Linked DNA regions of Homo sapiens: region 2 is linked to region 1. The links are contacts of gene promoters, found by promoter capture Hi-C in blood cells and fetal thymus (Javierre and others, 2016). All regions are on one chromosome and are shown on one strand. Each heading gives the region's core, a stretch centred on a gene start or on the middle of the fragment in contact. The rest is flanking DNA. Distances are from core to core; before and after follow the strand shown. Region 1 holds the start of CEP83 (centrosomal protein 83). Region 2 overlaps PLXNC1 (plexin C1).

The links. The method cuts DNA at HindIII sites, captures the fragments that hold promoters and counts their contacts. A CHiCAGO score of 5 or more calls a contact.
Region 2: a fragment that was not itself captured here is called in contact with the fragment with the promoter of CEP83 in region 1 in 1 of 17 cell types (fetal thymus); the score reaches 5.0 in fetal thymus.

The regions. Positions count from the first base shown.
Region 1 is chr12:94,458,592-94,462,519 of GRCh38, forward strand. CEP83 (centrosomal protein 83) reads right to left here and starts at 1,276. Exons shown (of 17, transcript NM_016122.3): 1 at 966-1,276. It overlaps CEP83-DT (CEP83 divergent transcript), which reads left to right and starts at 1,412. Exons shown (of 1, transcript NR_027035.1): 1 at 1,412-3,928. RefSeq lists an enhancer at 1,693-1,742. The HindIII fragment of the contact is 10,845 bases long and covers 1-3,928 here.
Region 2 is chr12:94,162,745-94,166,392 of GRCh38, forward strand. All of the region lies in intron 1 of PLXNC1 (plexin C1), which reads left to right. Among named protein-coding and RNA genes, the nearest start is that of PLXNC1-AS1, 12 kb to the right of the region's middle. The HindIII fragment of the contact is 2,605 bases long and covers 899-3,503 here.

The DNA.
Region 1 (3,928 bases), core at 26-2,525:
GCCGGGCATGGTGGCACGCACCTGTAATCCCAGCTACTCGGGAGGCTGAGGCAGGAGAATCGCTTGAACCCAGGAGGCGGAGGTTGCAGTGAGCCGAGATCGCGCTACTGCACTCCAGCCTGGGCGACAGAGTGAGACTCAGTCATAAATAAATAAATAAAGCATTCTAACAATTCTGAACAAACTGAGTTTGAAATCAAACCTCAATACAAAAGGTGAGTATTAATTCTAACCACTTACAGGCTAAATTCATAAATATGGAAAATTCTAAATCCAGGTAACTGTAGGATAGATACCTTTAATTGTGTTTTAGTTAAATGTCAGACTTGTTTACAGACATGTTGCTTGGTAACAGAAGCACTGCTTTAACAACCCACTCTGTTTTAGAGCTGCTTAAAGTCTGAACAGATTATGAAGTATATATCATATACACGAAATTCAGACAAGTCTTTCCTTATCCTAGAGATCTGTAAGATTTGAAAGAGCTTCCTCATTTCAGCTAACTAAAGGCTTTACAAATACTTAGCAGTGGATATTCTTAAGAGCAAAATGCCCATTGATTATGGTCAAAAGTTGGACACTGAGGATTAACCAAAGTATTTAAACCCAGCATATGCTAACATATTTTAGGTGTTTATCTCAGTAATGACAGTCGACATCACTGTTCATTCAAATTGTCTTCAAAGCCAAGGAAAATGGTAGCATAGCTTTTTCATCGTAAATTAAGCTGGAGGTACTTAAACGTCTGGCCAATTACCAAACTGGCTACACAACCACCAAGCCAGAGTGCATCCAAAAGCTCCATGAAGAGTTTCACGTGCGTCTCTCTGCCTACTTTTCTAGCACGAGCTTCCACTACTTTAACAGGAAAATAAAAAAAGGATTCAAGGGCAGTTTGTGGAGGGACAAAATGAGTATTCCAAAATACAAACAAGACACCGTCCCCAGAAAGAGAGGTTACATACCAGACGCACGCACGCTCCTTGCAACCCGCACACGGAAAACTTAAGTGACCGCAGTTCTGGCCGCGCTCGCCACCGGGGACACCTCCACAGCTCCAACCACAGGCACCCACTCAACTCCGCTTACGGAGGCATTGGGACTAAGGGTTACGGTCCTACAGCGGGGTGTCGGCCCAGCGAGAGGAAGAGGGCCGAACGGACCCCTCGGGCTCCCGTCCCTAGGGAAATGTGAAGTATCCCGGGAGAGGTCCGAGGGCGGCGGCGGCGGCGGTGAAAAGCCCCACTCCTCCGCGTGGACCGGGATCCTCAGGGGTGCGGCGCCACCCCACGTGCTGACGTATGGCCCAGAAGCCGCCTCATCGCACCGCCCCACCAGCCTGGAGGAGCGGGCTCTGTCCCTTGGCCCAGCGGCACGCGAAGCAGGAAGTCCCACCCCCCACGCCGACGTCACCCACGCCACCGACGCCGGTTGCTGCCGGAGCCGTTAGAGGGAGGAGACAAACGAACCGAGGCGGGAGCGGCCACGGGTGACAGCGGCAGCGGCGGGGCCGGGCTGCGCTCCCGAAGGCGTTCCTGGAGGGCCCTGGGATGGACTCAGAGATCCCCAGAGCCCCAGGGGACGGAAAATCTAGCCCCGGGCACTTGCCTTGGAGTCTGAGTGATGCGCGTCGTTGGAGCGCGAAGCCGGTCTCCCTAGCCTCCGCCCGACACAGCGTCTCCAGGGGTTTTCCTCCTTTTCGCGCCTCTCCTTCCCTCTTCCCCACACCATTTGAGAGCCTCAAATGGTAGTCCTGCCGCCACCTCTCTCCCTTCGCCAGCCTGCCATCGTCCCCATGGGTGCAGATATGCGCTCCCGAAGCCGCCTGCCTGCCGCGTCTGCCTCGGGCATCAGCCCACGAGTGGGGAGTCGGCTCAGCTTGCCACGAGGGAACCTCGGGTTAGGACCAATCGCCCGGGAGAGAGCCCTCCTCGCCCCCGCACCTCCTGCTCCAAGTCTCCTGTCCTGGTTATCCCAAGTTCAGGGCCCACCTGGGGTCACATGGGGAACTACTTGTCTTAAGGCTGTAAACAATAGTTGGAAGAGGAGTTGCTAGCTTTTGAGAACTTCCATGATCATCCAAAGTCTGAAACAAAGTAGGCGGTCAGCCTTTCAAAATACGTGTTGGAAGAAACAGACACCTTCCCATCCCCAGCGTTTGTTCAGTGCCTTGGTTGGGCTTTGATTCTCACTGCTTTGTGAAGTACAGCTTATTTTTACCCCCAAGATTATGATTTTCAGGCTGTAGTTATTATTGGACAACTGAGAGGTGATTTTGTTGTTGTTGAAATGAGGGAAAACGGGCCATTAGAAAGGACCGTGTCTCTTAAGAGGAGGGAAAAAAAGGACAGCGAGTTGGTAATGGAATGTTGCTGGATGGATTACATAGATGAGACATGGGAGATAGAATAGAGAATCCAGAAATTCTCATGTATGTGTGCGTGTTTAGTATAATAACAGTAGCTCACATTTGCTGAGCATTTGTGTGGCAAGTACTGGAGTACTTTTTCAGGTTATCTTATTTAACTCTAACATTTCTGTAAGGTAGGTGCAATTGTTATCTCCATTTCACAGAGTTGCCCAAAACCATTACTTTTAAACGCTGGAGCCAGACAACTCCAGAAATCTCTGTGGTAGCCAGTAAACTATACATGACAAATTATTGGTCAGTAGGAAAAAGATCATTCGGGAAATGGCGGTGGCTCACGCCTGTAATCCCAGCACGCTGGGAGGCCAAGGCAGGTGGATCACCTGAGGTCAGGAGTTCGAGACGACCCTGGCCAACATGGTGAAATCCCATCTATTAAAAATACAAAAAGCCAAGAAAAACAAATATTCAATTAACAAACGGAAAGTTGTCCCACTTCCAAACAGTTGTTTTTTGTCTATCATTGTTGATAGGGGTGTGGGATACAATTACTGTCAGGCATTTTTGGTGTGAAGGTGAAATTGGTACAACCCTATTTACCAAAATTTAACATATGCATTAGCCTTTGCCCCACAGCTGTCTCATTTCCGAGGCATATACCCTAAGGAAAATAAGGGATTCATAAGGATACTATTTGCCACCTTTTTTAAAAATAATGCTTCTAGAAACAAGTGTCCATCACTAGGACACTAGTTAAGAAAATTATGATTGGTACATGCAATGGAATACTCTTGACCCATTAAAAACTGATGGAAAGTTCTTTATTTGCATTAAAGTATGTCCAAAAAATATAGTTTCCCCTCAGGAAAAAAAAAGCAGAATGTAGTTTAGCAAGTACAGTGCTGTCCTAATGTGAATATATGTGTGTACATATGTTAATATAAGTGTACAAAAATATCTGGAAGAAGGTCAGTCAAAATACAAGTGTTTTACATTTTGTCTTTTGGACTTTTTATCTGGTTGGTGTTTTTTGTAATTTATTATTTTACAAAAACAAAGTTGTGTTTTATGTTTTAATTAAAGCTGTGCCAGTGAAAAGGGAGCCAGTTGACTCTTGACCTTCACAAGTAGGTAACCATGATGAAGTAACTATGTCTGGGGATCTGAGTCTCAGCTTTTTTGTGTCTATAAATTTGATTATATTCATTTACCTATAGTTGGACAAGCTAACCTACCACCTGGACATCATAGTTTTGACTCCCCAAATTGGACTGGGTATCCATTCTATGTGTTCTCTGTGTGCCTGTCATGGTATTTGTCACACTGTACTGTAATTCCCTCTGTGCCAGTAGATTGTTTGCTCCTGCCATACATATACACATGCACATACATACTTTTTCTGCTATATGTTACACATTTCTTTTGATTTATTATTTGTCATCTACATTTGTATACAGAAGTTTTAATTTTCATTAGCCAAAATGCTAATGAAATCACATAGATATTAAAGGGATACTTGGAACAACTTTATGCCAATAAATTCAGTAACTTAAGCAAAAT
Region 2 (3,648 bases), core at 951-3,450, 290 kb before region 1:
TTAGTGGTGCTGTTGACCATGATGGGTAGCAGGACCAGAGGGAAGAAAAGTCTAGATAACCATTTGTCAGCACCTCTGAAACCATGTCACAGATTTCAGTGGTTCTTAACAGGGGATAATGACATTTACTTAGGGGATGTTGAGAAATGTTGGGGAGAGACTTTCACAGTAGTCAACATAATAGAGGGCACTGCTTTGTGGACAGGAGTCAGGAATGCTAGAAGTCCCGCATCACACAGGACAGCTCCCATAATGAGGAGCCATCCCATGTAGAATGCCAGTTGTTTCCTCCTGGACAAGCACTGGTGGACTGAGTCTCTTTCAATTCTGAGAACCTAGGGCCAGGTGCGGTGGCTCACACCTGTAATGCCAGCACTTTGGGAAGCTAAGGTGGGCGGATCATGAGGTCAGGAGTTCAAGACCAGCCTAGCCAACATAGTGAAACCCCATCTCTACTAAAAATACAATAATTAGCCAGGCATGGTGGCAGGCACCTGTAGCTACTCCGGAGGCTGAGGCAGGAGAATCGCTTGAACCCGGGAGTCAGAGGTTGCCGTGAGCCGAGATCGTGCCACTACACTCCAGCCTGGGCGACACAGTGAGACTCTGTCTCAAAATAATAATAATAAAAAAAAGAATCTAGGAAAATGCAGTTTCACGCTATCTGCCATTCATATACTTTTGTAAATTATTTGAGTCAGGTCGTCTTTTTATAAGTAATTGACTGAAATTAGCCATAGGGAGGAGAAGGAGGTTGTGGGGGTGGGGAAGGGACATAAAGCGGGAAGAAGGAAGGATGAATCTTGGAGAGTGGGACTTTGCTGGTGGGTTGGCCTGGGTGGCTGGGAACACTGGGGCCCGTCGAGGGAGGGGAGAGGGTAGAAGGAGGTGAAATACAAGCTTCACCACCTTGCATGCTTCCCACGGCTGTGCTGCACACCAGTGATGTTTTCTGGTCTAGAGGCTGCCCAGCTGTGTCCCTAAGCACACTTTGAACCTCTCCTTTTGGTCATTTGAGTCCCCAGTGTAAATTCTTCCTTCAGACGATCAGAGAGCTGCCATAACTTAGTCAGATCCCGGTCAACACTGTATACACTAGAATGGAGAAAAGCAACCCGAGCCTTCCTAGCTAATAAAATCACTGTCCGACTTGGGCAAATAGTTGTCCTTTCCATCTCCTTAGCTGAATAAAAGTAATCTAATTATTTTCAAACACATGATTTCATCTGGACCTCACAACAACACTGAGAGGCAGGGCATGTGGTATTATTAGGTCCATTTTACAGATACAGTCACTGAGGTTCAGGAGACTTAACTTGCTGGAATCAAGCAGTCTATAAGGCACAGAGCAGGGGCCAGAACTTGGGTGCAGGGCTCCTTCAGGGGTTTCCTAATGGCAAGTGGGCCCCTTGGGAAGTAACAGAAAATGATGAAACTGCTTCAAAACAAAGGGATCCCAAAGGGAACAGAATATAAAATTAACTGCCCAAGAAAGGCATTTTGTCATGTACAAGAAATTGATAGGTACCCAGTTGGTATTTCCTCCCACCTGGTAAGGTAAAATCAACATACAGGAATCCTTTTAGCACCTTGGGGGTAAAACACTTGACTCTTGCTTGGTGCTCAACATTGGAGGCCCCAGTTTTGTGCCCATTCCCTCCCGATGATGCCGCAAAAGCTGGAGCATGGCTGTGAGCACCCTGCCTCGATGAGCCGGGCCATCTTTCACATGGTAGGGGCAGGGCCAAGCTGTGGCTCAGCTCTAGAGGGTGCCTTTCACACCCTGGAATGCATGACTGGCACCCCCTGCAGTTGTGCAGGGCACAATGGGAGAGTATTTATTGTCCATGAAAAATCATATGAAGCAGCTGCAAAGAAGTCTAATTGTTTTCCTCATGATATGCCCATGACTCCCTGCACACACACACACACACACACACACACACACACACACACACACACGTACACACACAAACACACACACACCTCAGGAGCTTTGGTCCCAGTTTGCTATATCAGGCCCAAAGCTCTTTCTCTCTTTCAGCCCAAACATCGCTTGAGCCAAGGTAGCTTTCTCCTCCAACTGAGAAAAGTTTCCCTCTTAGAGCCGGCAAACGTGTAGGCGTGACGTTATGCTTAGACACGGCAGGAAGGAGAAGCAGAGTGACAACTCTGAGGGAACCAAGAAAGCCCAAAGGGGAGACAAGGTTTAGAGCGAAATCAAGATCGGATTTTGTCATGAAAGGCAGAACTGGCAAAAGCATCATTACAAGGCATTAACCTTGTTACACACAGACGAACAAGCAGAGGCTGGGATTCAGAAATAAATTACACATAATAAACTAGACAGAATAGGCTGAGAGCAACATTAGCGATTATGCCCTAAGGGGAGAGAAGGGCAAGATAGAAAATAGGCCCGAAAAAAAGAGAGAAAGAATAATCTCTGGACACAGGGGGCTGACTGCACTGTTTCCCCCTTCTTCTGCCTGGCTCCCTGGGTATTAACCTCACTTTTGTGAGGACGTTTCTCCGGAGCCTGTCTTTCTTTTGTTTTCATTTGCTGCAATAAGCATAAGAAAGCCATTCAAAGGGTTCCTTTTCCCATTCACAGGGACCTGTCCATTTCTGTGTGTTTCCAGCACAAAAGAATCCATTTCCATTCAGCCAGAGCAGCCCCTAGAGTTTTCATGAGGTCCAAGCCTCCTCTCCTGTTTTCTTCCAGGCTCGCTGTTGTAATAGGCTGCAAAATCCTGACTGTGGCCAGGGTCCTCCAGGCTGGTGAGAGGAACAAGCATTTGTCCACGTCCTGGTCCCTGCAGCTGGGGAAGAACTGCAGTTTAGTGTCCGCTCCAACAAGTTGTGATTGTCATTTCTTAAACAGTGACTTCCTTTTGGTTCCAAGTAGCAGAAAACGCAACCAACAGTGGCTTAAACCATGACAACTATTGTTAACTTAGTAAAATGTTTAAAAGTTGAAGGTCTGCGGCTCAGTGGTGTCTCCAGGAACATAGAATCTCTTTTCTTTCCCCTGCACCAATCTTAGCATGTTGCTTTGTATCCTTCATCTTGAATCTCATGGAAACAGAACGGTTGCCACGAGTCTATGCATGATGAGATCACACAACTGTATTCCAGAGGAGGAAGTGAGGGAAGAGGGCAAACGGGTTCTCCTCAAGAGGCTTCTGTTATCAATGAGGAAACTTATTCCCAGAAATCCTTCCAGTGGACTTCTCACATCTCCCTGCCCAGGACTGGGCCACATGACCACCCTCAGCTCTAAGGGTTAGGAAAGCCAGTGTCTGGCAATAGGGAATGGAGCTGCCATTTGGCTTGGCCCAACGATAGCTTCCACCAGGCTTGGGTTCATTGCTGTCTGAACAAAATTAGGGTTCTTCTTGGCAAAGAGAAAATAACTGCCATGGGTGTGGCAGTAACTTGTGTTTTTAAATGAAGTAATGATAGCAAGCATGGGTTATGTGTTGCTATGTGCCAAACCTGTTCTAAGCTTTACTGAGGCTTACGCACAAACTCACCCAGTCCTCATAAAAAGTCTGTGGCATAAAAAGTCTGTGCTCTTATCATCATTTCCATCATATGGAGGAGAAAACTGAGTCACAGAGAGATTAAATCACATTTACAAAATTACTT